Regions from separate parts of the Homo sapiens genome. Here region 1 is linked to region 2. Evidence: promoter capture Hi-C in 16 types of primary human blood cells and fetal thymus (Javierre and others, 2016). All regions are on one chromosome and are shown on one strand. Each heading gives the region's core, a stretch centred on a gene start or on the middle of the fragment in contact. The rest is flanking DNA. Distances are from core to core; before and after follow the strand shown.

The links. The method cuts DNA at HindIII sites, captures the fragments that hold promoters and counts their contacts. A CHiCAGO score of 5 or more calls a contact.
Region 1: a contact is called between the fragment with the promoter of IGSF11-AS1 here and the fragment with the promoter of B4GALT4 in region 2, in 4 of 17 cell types (non-activated CD4 T cells, naive CD4 T cells, activated CD4 T cells and 1 more). The highest score is 6.8, in non-activated CD4 T cells.

The regions. Positions count from the first base shown.
Region 1 is chr3:118,940,782-118,944,547 of GRCh38, forward strand. IGSF11-AS1 (IGSF11 antisense RNA 1) reads left to right here and starts at 2,295. Exons shown (of 4, transcript NR_046230.1): 1 at 2,295-2,405. The region is part of intron 1 of IGSF11 (immunoglobulin superfamily member 11); the gene reads right to left. The HindIII fragment of the contact is 7,141 bases long and covers 1-3,766 here.
Region 2 is chr3:119,239,628-119,243,305 of GRCh38, forward strand. It overlaps B4GALT4 (beta-1,4-galactosyltransferase 4), which reads right to left and starts at 1,251. Exons shown (of 8, transcript NM_003778.4): 1 at 1,223-1,251. The region is part of intron 3 of B4GALT4-AS1 (B4GALT4 antisense RNA 1); the gene reads left to right. RefSeq lists silencers at 938-1,417, 2,068-2,117. The HindIII fragment of the contact is 11,429 bases long and covers 1-1,953 here.

The DNA of each region.
Region 1 (3,766 bases), core at 1,045-3,544, 300 kb before region 2:
GAGTCCAAAAATTGATTCATACATAAATGGGCAATTGATTTCCAACAAAGTTGTCAAAGCCATTCAGGGGGAAAAGTTTACTCTTTTTGAAAAACTGCACTGGGGGAAAAAATAATCTCCATATGCCAAAAAAAAAAAAAAAAACACCTCTACCCTTATTTAATACTTTATATAAAAATTAACTCAAAATAGATAAAAAATTTAAACATATCAATAAAACTATAAAACTTCTGGAAGAAAACACAGGAGAAATTCTCTATGACTCTGGGTTAGAAAAAGCCTTCTGGAATAGGATACAAAATGCATTAACCACTTAAAAATGGGTAAGACCTCATCAAAATTATTGTTTTGATAATAAAACAATAATAAAACAAGGTAAGTTTCTTGTCTTCAAAAGACACTATTAAGAAAATAAAAATACAAGCCATAGGTTGGGAAAAAATATTTTCAAAACACAAGTTCTTGTATTTATAATATCTAAAAACTCTTAAAATTCAACAAAACAAACAGTCCAATTTTTTAAATGCACAAAAGATTTGAACAGACACTTCACTATGCATAGAAAGTATACAAATGAGTAATAACATCCTGAAACGATGCTCCACTTCATTAGTCAACAGGGAACTTAAAACCACATTGAGATAATACAAAACATCAACTAGAATATATTATATTAACACGACAATGCTAAGTGTTGACGAGAATGTAGAACAACTAACTCTCATACATTTCTGAAGGAAATGAAATGTAGTACAGTCATTTGGAAACATTTTCATATTTTATTACAGAATTAAATGTACACTTAACTATACAATCTAGCAATTCCAATTCTAGATATTTATGCAAGACAAGTAAAGATACAGATCTACAGAAAAACCTATATGCAAATGTTCACTGCATCTTTATTTGTAATAGCCAAAATACCAGACACAACTCAAATGCCCATCAACTTGCAAATGGATAAAACAATTGTGACACAGCCATTTAATGAAATATTACTTATGAACAAAAAAAACCTCAAACTTCTGATATATGCAAAATGACTAAATGTTAAAGCTATTGTGCTAAGTGAAATAATCCAGAAACAAATGGCTATATACTGCATGTATCCATTAAAAAAAAATCTACGGAGAAAGCAAAACTATACAGGCAGAAAACAAAGCAGCAGTTGCCAGATGCTGGAGCTGGGACTGAGGGTTAAAGTTTGGCAGAGAATACTACATAGGGCATAAGGGAAGTCCTTGGAGTTACAGAAATAGTGTACATCACGGTTATGGTAGTGAACACAAGACGAGACATTTGTCAAAACATAGCAAACTATATACCTAGACAGAGGGATTTTATTGTATGTAAGTTATACTTTAAAAAAATGTTTTTTTAGAAAAAGGTATGTTGGGAAGCTCACAGAATCATGGAAATGGCTTGAAAAACAAATTAAGGGCTAATCTTCCAGGAAAACATCCATAACTATACTGTAAAACTGGCTTAAGAAAATTGCTGCAACTGTCCCTGTCACCAAACCCCAAATGCCAAAACTTTACTGCAACTACGAATGATGTCCCAGTGCTATATCAGGCACTTAACCCTACAACACTACCATCCTGCAAAGCCATACTCTTATGCTGCTATCTGTGCTAGCAATAGAAGCTCAACATAGAACTTGTTCTGTCACGTTTCTTCTTTCAAGTTTCTTCTTTCAAGTCAGGGCCAGAGACTCTCTATGTGAATCTGACTGAAGGGCCGAAGTCCAAGCTACACAAGAGGCCAGAAATTTAAGTTCTCATTTCTAACACTGGGGAGGTAGACTCATAATGTGGGAATTCCTCCAAATAGAAATACTATTCAAAATATGATTTGTCAGCCATGAATACGACTATGCTGACTACAGCAAGCAACAAATGAAAACAATAACAATTATGTCTTTCTCCTTCTTCTCTCCTACCTCTTCTAAGCCTATCTTTGTCAAGTTGTCTGTGTATTCCTTTATCTTGTCGGCTTTGCAGGGTGAAAAGATGAAACTACTGAAGACCAACAGGCTTCCTGTCTCTTGTGAAGCCTATGCTCACTGAGGAAGCTACAGTGGGGCAGAGGAGGTAGGAGGGGCTGCCTTTGAGCCTGATAAAGGAGAAAAAATACTACTGGGAGGGGAATGGAAGTTGGCCAAGTTCCTTGACAAGAGGAGATGCATGCTCTCCTTTGCTCAGAGGACAAAGGAAATAATGGTGCCTCAAAGAGTATGGCTGTCCTGGAGACTGGAGCTCTGGTCATCACAACATTCCATGTGTCCTACAAGGCACAGAAGCTGCAGAGCAACACAAAGGATCCTGCGGGCTTGAACAAGGGGCTCGAACAAAAAGCAGTTACTCCACAGAAGACCAGAGGGGTCCTCCCAGCATTGTGGCTCTGTAAGACAGACTGCAGCATATAGAGGGGAGCCTCAATAATTGATAATTATCACAATGATTTTTTTAAAAAGGGGTCTCAGATTTGAATTCAACTTGACATTTTAAAAAACAGATAGACATTTCTTACAAAACTTTGTGGAGCCTAGAAATGATGAGTAAAGTTTAAAAATAAATCTTAATGCCCTAAGCATTATATAAGGACTTTAAAAAAGATCTCTGTGCTTTCAAAAATTTCAGAAATCATAGTTTAAAGACAAGGCAGGGAATGGGCAGAGAAAACTGACAGAATCTAGGGGCTATTTTTTCGCTATTTCAGGATTGTCTTTTATTACAATGATAACCCTCTAGCCAAATCTGAACTTCCATGTGACTGGCCTTTTTCAGAGAAAATAAAATTTCTTGCTGCTTAGCTTTCTAAAGGACTTCTGAAAATCTAGGCTTTTAACTTGGATAATGAATAGGGTGAGAAGAATGTATTTTTCTTTCCTGTATACAGAACACTCTCTGACATTGTGATGCTATAGTTGCATGTCCTTATCAGTCTGGTTACTACATTGAGATTTATATTGGGAAATGCTATCTAGAGTTTCCAGATGGCAAGAGGCCAGATAAAGGGCCTTTGCTGTTAAATACAACCATGTACTCTCAACTTCACCACTTGGTTGAATATAGCTCTACTTGGCTATAATGAGCAAGCTCCATTTGTTTAATGAAGCATTCATATGACAAAAGTGGCTAAATCAACAAGTAGAGTTATTTATGAACAAATAAAGCCATCTGAAACCATCAGGAAGGATGTTACATTCTGAAACCAATTAAATTCTTTTTAAAAATGGCTCAACTGAAATATTTTATTCTTGTTCACCAGTAACACTGCTTCTTTCCAAATTAAACACTATTTTTAAAATTTTTCTTGATTTTTAGATATGTTTGTGTTAGTACTAATTTAACTTCTAACTAGTTTAAAGCATTCTTCAGTTTTTAACATACAAATATTTTAAATGTGGAAGTAAAGAGTTTGGTTATCCTTTTAGAAGTTCTCTTGAAGTCTAGGAATAGAGATAGAGGTAATATGGCATCATCATTAGGTTCTAATACAATGTATCTAGGTTTACTTTCTATGACCTTCAAGGCTCTGCTTAATCTGACCTTTGCCTGTTCTTCCAGCCAGTCTTACAGTACTTTCTTCCACAGTGGGCTTTTCTCAGGTTCAGCAACACACTGCACTCTCCCATCTAAGATTTATGTGGTCTATTGCCTTAGCTTGAAATACACACACACACACACACACACACACACACACACACACACACACACACACGATCCCTCTCATTTCTACCCATCCTTCAGATTTCAAAATT
Region 2 (3,678 bases), core at 1-2,500:
TCTATCCACTTCCCCTTAGATTATGTAGTCAAACAGTTCAATCCAGGTCAGTACTTTTTCACAACGTATGTTTTCAATCTGATCAAAGCTATAGGTAGACGAAAGTTATTGCAATTTCATGGGGTTTACAATTTCCATAAAGAACAAACCTGCTCTAGAAGACAAAATTCCAAAAACTTCTGAACTATATCCAATCAAGCATTATCTCCTCTCCCAAGAGAGACCTTCCAGCACTCCCCGCCTGGGTCTCGGGAATAGCCCTCCCTTCTGAATCCCAGTTTCTCAATCCGGACCCTGAATCCTATTCATCCTGATCTCTCCTTGATTTTCTTGCATCTTAAAGGTGTTATTTTCCTTTCTTTAAAAATTTAAAAAAAAAAAAAAAAGCCACAACTCGCCTCCACGCTCAGATTACCATTTTCTTTTTCCTCCTTTTCATCACCAAACGGCTGAGGAGGTCTACCAGTACCCTCACCACCGCCACGTCCCCATCCCTCACCCACTCTGGAACACTTTGCAACAGTGTGCACACCCACCCACTGTTGATAACTACTCTCCTAAGGCTACCAACCCATAGGCCTCTCCTCGATGCAGAGTCCTTTGGACTTTGTCTGTTTTTTTTCAAACCAAGAATTAACAGCCCTTATCTAATGGAAGACAGAACATCAAGGGATACAGATCAACAAACACTGGATGGCTGTCTCCGAAGTCTTTTATAATCCAGGTGACCAACCCCTTTGGAGAAAGGTCAAAGGTCGCCGGCCCCTCGCAGGACTGGGGCTGGTGTCAGCTGATCAGTTTCCCCGTTGAAACGCTGGAGAAGGAGGGTTTCCAGGAAGAAGGGGCTTTTTCAGGTTGATGCACCCGGCGGAGAAGTGCTGGGGGCGACCCCGGAATCGTGACCTGGGGTATGAATGAGCCCTGGATTTTTTCCTACCCGGCAGCACCTCGTCTGGCTCCCCCGGCCCGCAGCAGAGGCGGCGCCGCGCGGAACGCCAGCACCTGAGCCGGTGCCTCCCGCCAGGCTCGGCCTCCGTAGGCCCCCGGCCCGGCCCACCGCTCCGGCTGAGGCGGGACTGCCCCACGGACGCCGCCACGTCATCCCCACGCCCGCCCCGCTACAGCCCTGGGACTGACCCCGGCCGTCGCCCGGCTACCCTCGCACGGCGCCCGTGTCCAGGGAACTGCATTTCCCGGGCGCCGGCGGAGCCAGCGTACTCACCCCGGAGGCGGCCGCGGCGAGCTAGCACTGCCCGCGGAGAGGGGAGAACGCGGAAAGCAGCTCGGGGACCGCCCCAGCCGCCCGGGAGGCGGCTCTTGAGTACGAGCTCCGCCTCCCGCCTTGGCCGGAGAGGCTGGTCCGCCCGGCTCTGCACGCGCCTGGCGCTCCACCCCCGCCAAATCGACCACACCGGGCGCTGGAAGGAGCACCGGGAGGGAAACGGAGGGTTGACGCCTCGGCCTCTGGGTGGCTTTAAAACCCTGTGCCAATAGTAGACTGGGTGCTGAGCGCTTCCCAAATTCCATCCCCTTAAATACTCACAAAGCAGTAGGAAAGAGATAGGGACCCTTCCATTTTACAGAGTGGGAAACTGAGACTTTAGAGAGGCTAATAAACTTAATCACCCTGCGAGATTTCAGCCCTCTCAACTGCAAAAATGATAATAATAATAATAATATTTTTCCCATGTTGCAGGTCTGAGAATATTAAATGATTTTTTTAAATCCGTATTTCTTCAAAGATATTATTACAGAAAGCAAAGACAATTATATTTACACTAAAGATTTGAGTGAAAAATTATGGTAGGCTCTGTTTAGGCAGTCAGGATAGCTAGATTCTCTAATGCAGTCTCCCACTGCACTCACGGGAAAGTAGTAGATTCTCCAAGAACCACACATCCACTCCACCCAAAAAGGAACAAACCATAGCTAGAGCCAGTGCTGGGCTCATTAAGCTTCATAGCAGGAAATCTGAGGCTATACTGAGGCCGCATAGGCCCAATGTAGGCCCTTGGAAGCTGGAAAAGAGGGCCACCTAGTGGCAGTTGAGGATAGGTCAGTGAAATAGGTCAACACTGCTCCTGAACAAGGTCCAGTGTGAAACTTATTTTTTTGTGTTCCCTTTGTAACATGCTGTAAGGGTGTATAACCACATTTAGTGAAAAAGGACATTACTGGATTTCATCCAGTGGCGTTATACAATCAGTTACTTATACCCACATAGTCCCCAGGTCTTGAGCATATGATGCCTGGAAGCATAATATATACCTTTTGCAAGAATCACTCAGCTTTTCCCCTCCCCCTCCCCCTCTCTGTCTCCCTCCCCATCTCCCTCCCCCCTTTGCACGGTCCTCGTCTCCCCTTTGCATGGTCTCCCTCTGATGCCGAGCCGAGGCTGGACTGTACTGCCGCCATCTCGGCTCACGGCAGCCTCCCTGCCTGATTCCCCTGCCTCAGCCTGCCGAGTGCCTGGGATTGCAGGCGCGCACCGCCACACCTGACTGGTTTTCGTATTTTTTGGTGGAGACGGGGTTTCGCCGAGTTGGCCGGGCTGGTCTCCAGCTCCTGACCGCGAGTGGTCTGCCAGCCTCGGCCTCCCGAGGTGCCGGGATTGCAGACGGAGTCTCGCTCACTCAGTGCTCAATGTTGCCCAGGCTGGAGTGCAGTGGCTTGATCTCGGATCGCTACAACCTCCACCTCCCAGCCGCCTGCCTTGGCCTCCCAAAGTGCCGAGATTGCAGCCTCTGCCCTGCTGCCACGCCGTATAGGAAGTGAGGAGCGTCTCTGCCTGGCCGCCCATCATCTGGGATGTGGGGAGCCCCTCTGCCCAGCCGCCCAGTCTGGAAAGTGAGGAGCGCTTCTTCCCGGCCGCCACCCCGTCTAGGAAGTGAGGAGCGTCTCTGCCTGGCCGCCCATCATCTGGGATGTGGGGAGCGCCTCTGCCCCACCACCCCGTCTGAGAGGTGAAGAATGCCTCTGCCCGGCGGCGACCCGTCTAGGAACTGAGGAGTGTCTCTGCCCCGCCGCCACCCCGTCTGGGAGGTGAGGAGCGTCTCTGACTGGCCGCCCTGTCTGAGAAGTGAGGAGCCCCTCCGCCGGGCAGCTGCCTGGTCCGGGAGGTGGGGGGCAGCCGCCCAGCCAGCCGCCCCGCCCGGGAGGTGGGGGGGCAGCCCCCGCCTGGCCAGCCGCCCCGCCCGGCAAGTGGGGGGCAGCCCCCGCCCGGCCAGCCGCCCCGTCCGGGAGGTGGGGGGCGCCTCTGCCCAGCCGCCGCCCCGTCTGGGAGGTGGGGGCCCCTCTGCCCGGCCGCCGCCCCGTCTGGGAGGTGGGGGGCCCCTCTGCCCGGCAGCCCCGTCTGGGAAGTGAGGAGCCCCTCTGCCCGGCCACCACCCTGTCTGGGAGGTGTACCCAACAGCTCATTGAGAACGGGCCATGATGACGATGGCGGTTTTGTCCAATAGAAAAGGGGGAAATGTGGGGAAAAGAAAGAGAGATCAGATTGTTATTGTGTCTGTGTAGAAAGAAGTTGACATAGGAGACTCCATTTTGTTCTGTACTAGGAAAAATTCTTCTGCCTTGGGATGCTGTTAATCTATAACCTTACCCCCAACCCCCTGCTCTCTGAAACATGTGCTGTGTCCACTAAGGGTTAAATGGATTAAGGGCAGTGCAAGATGTGCT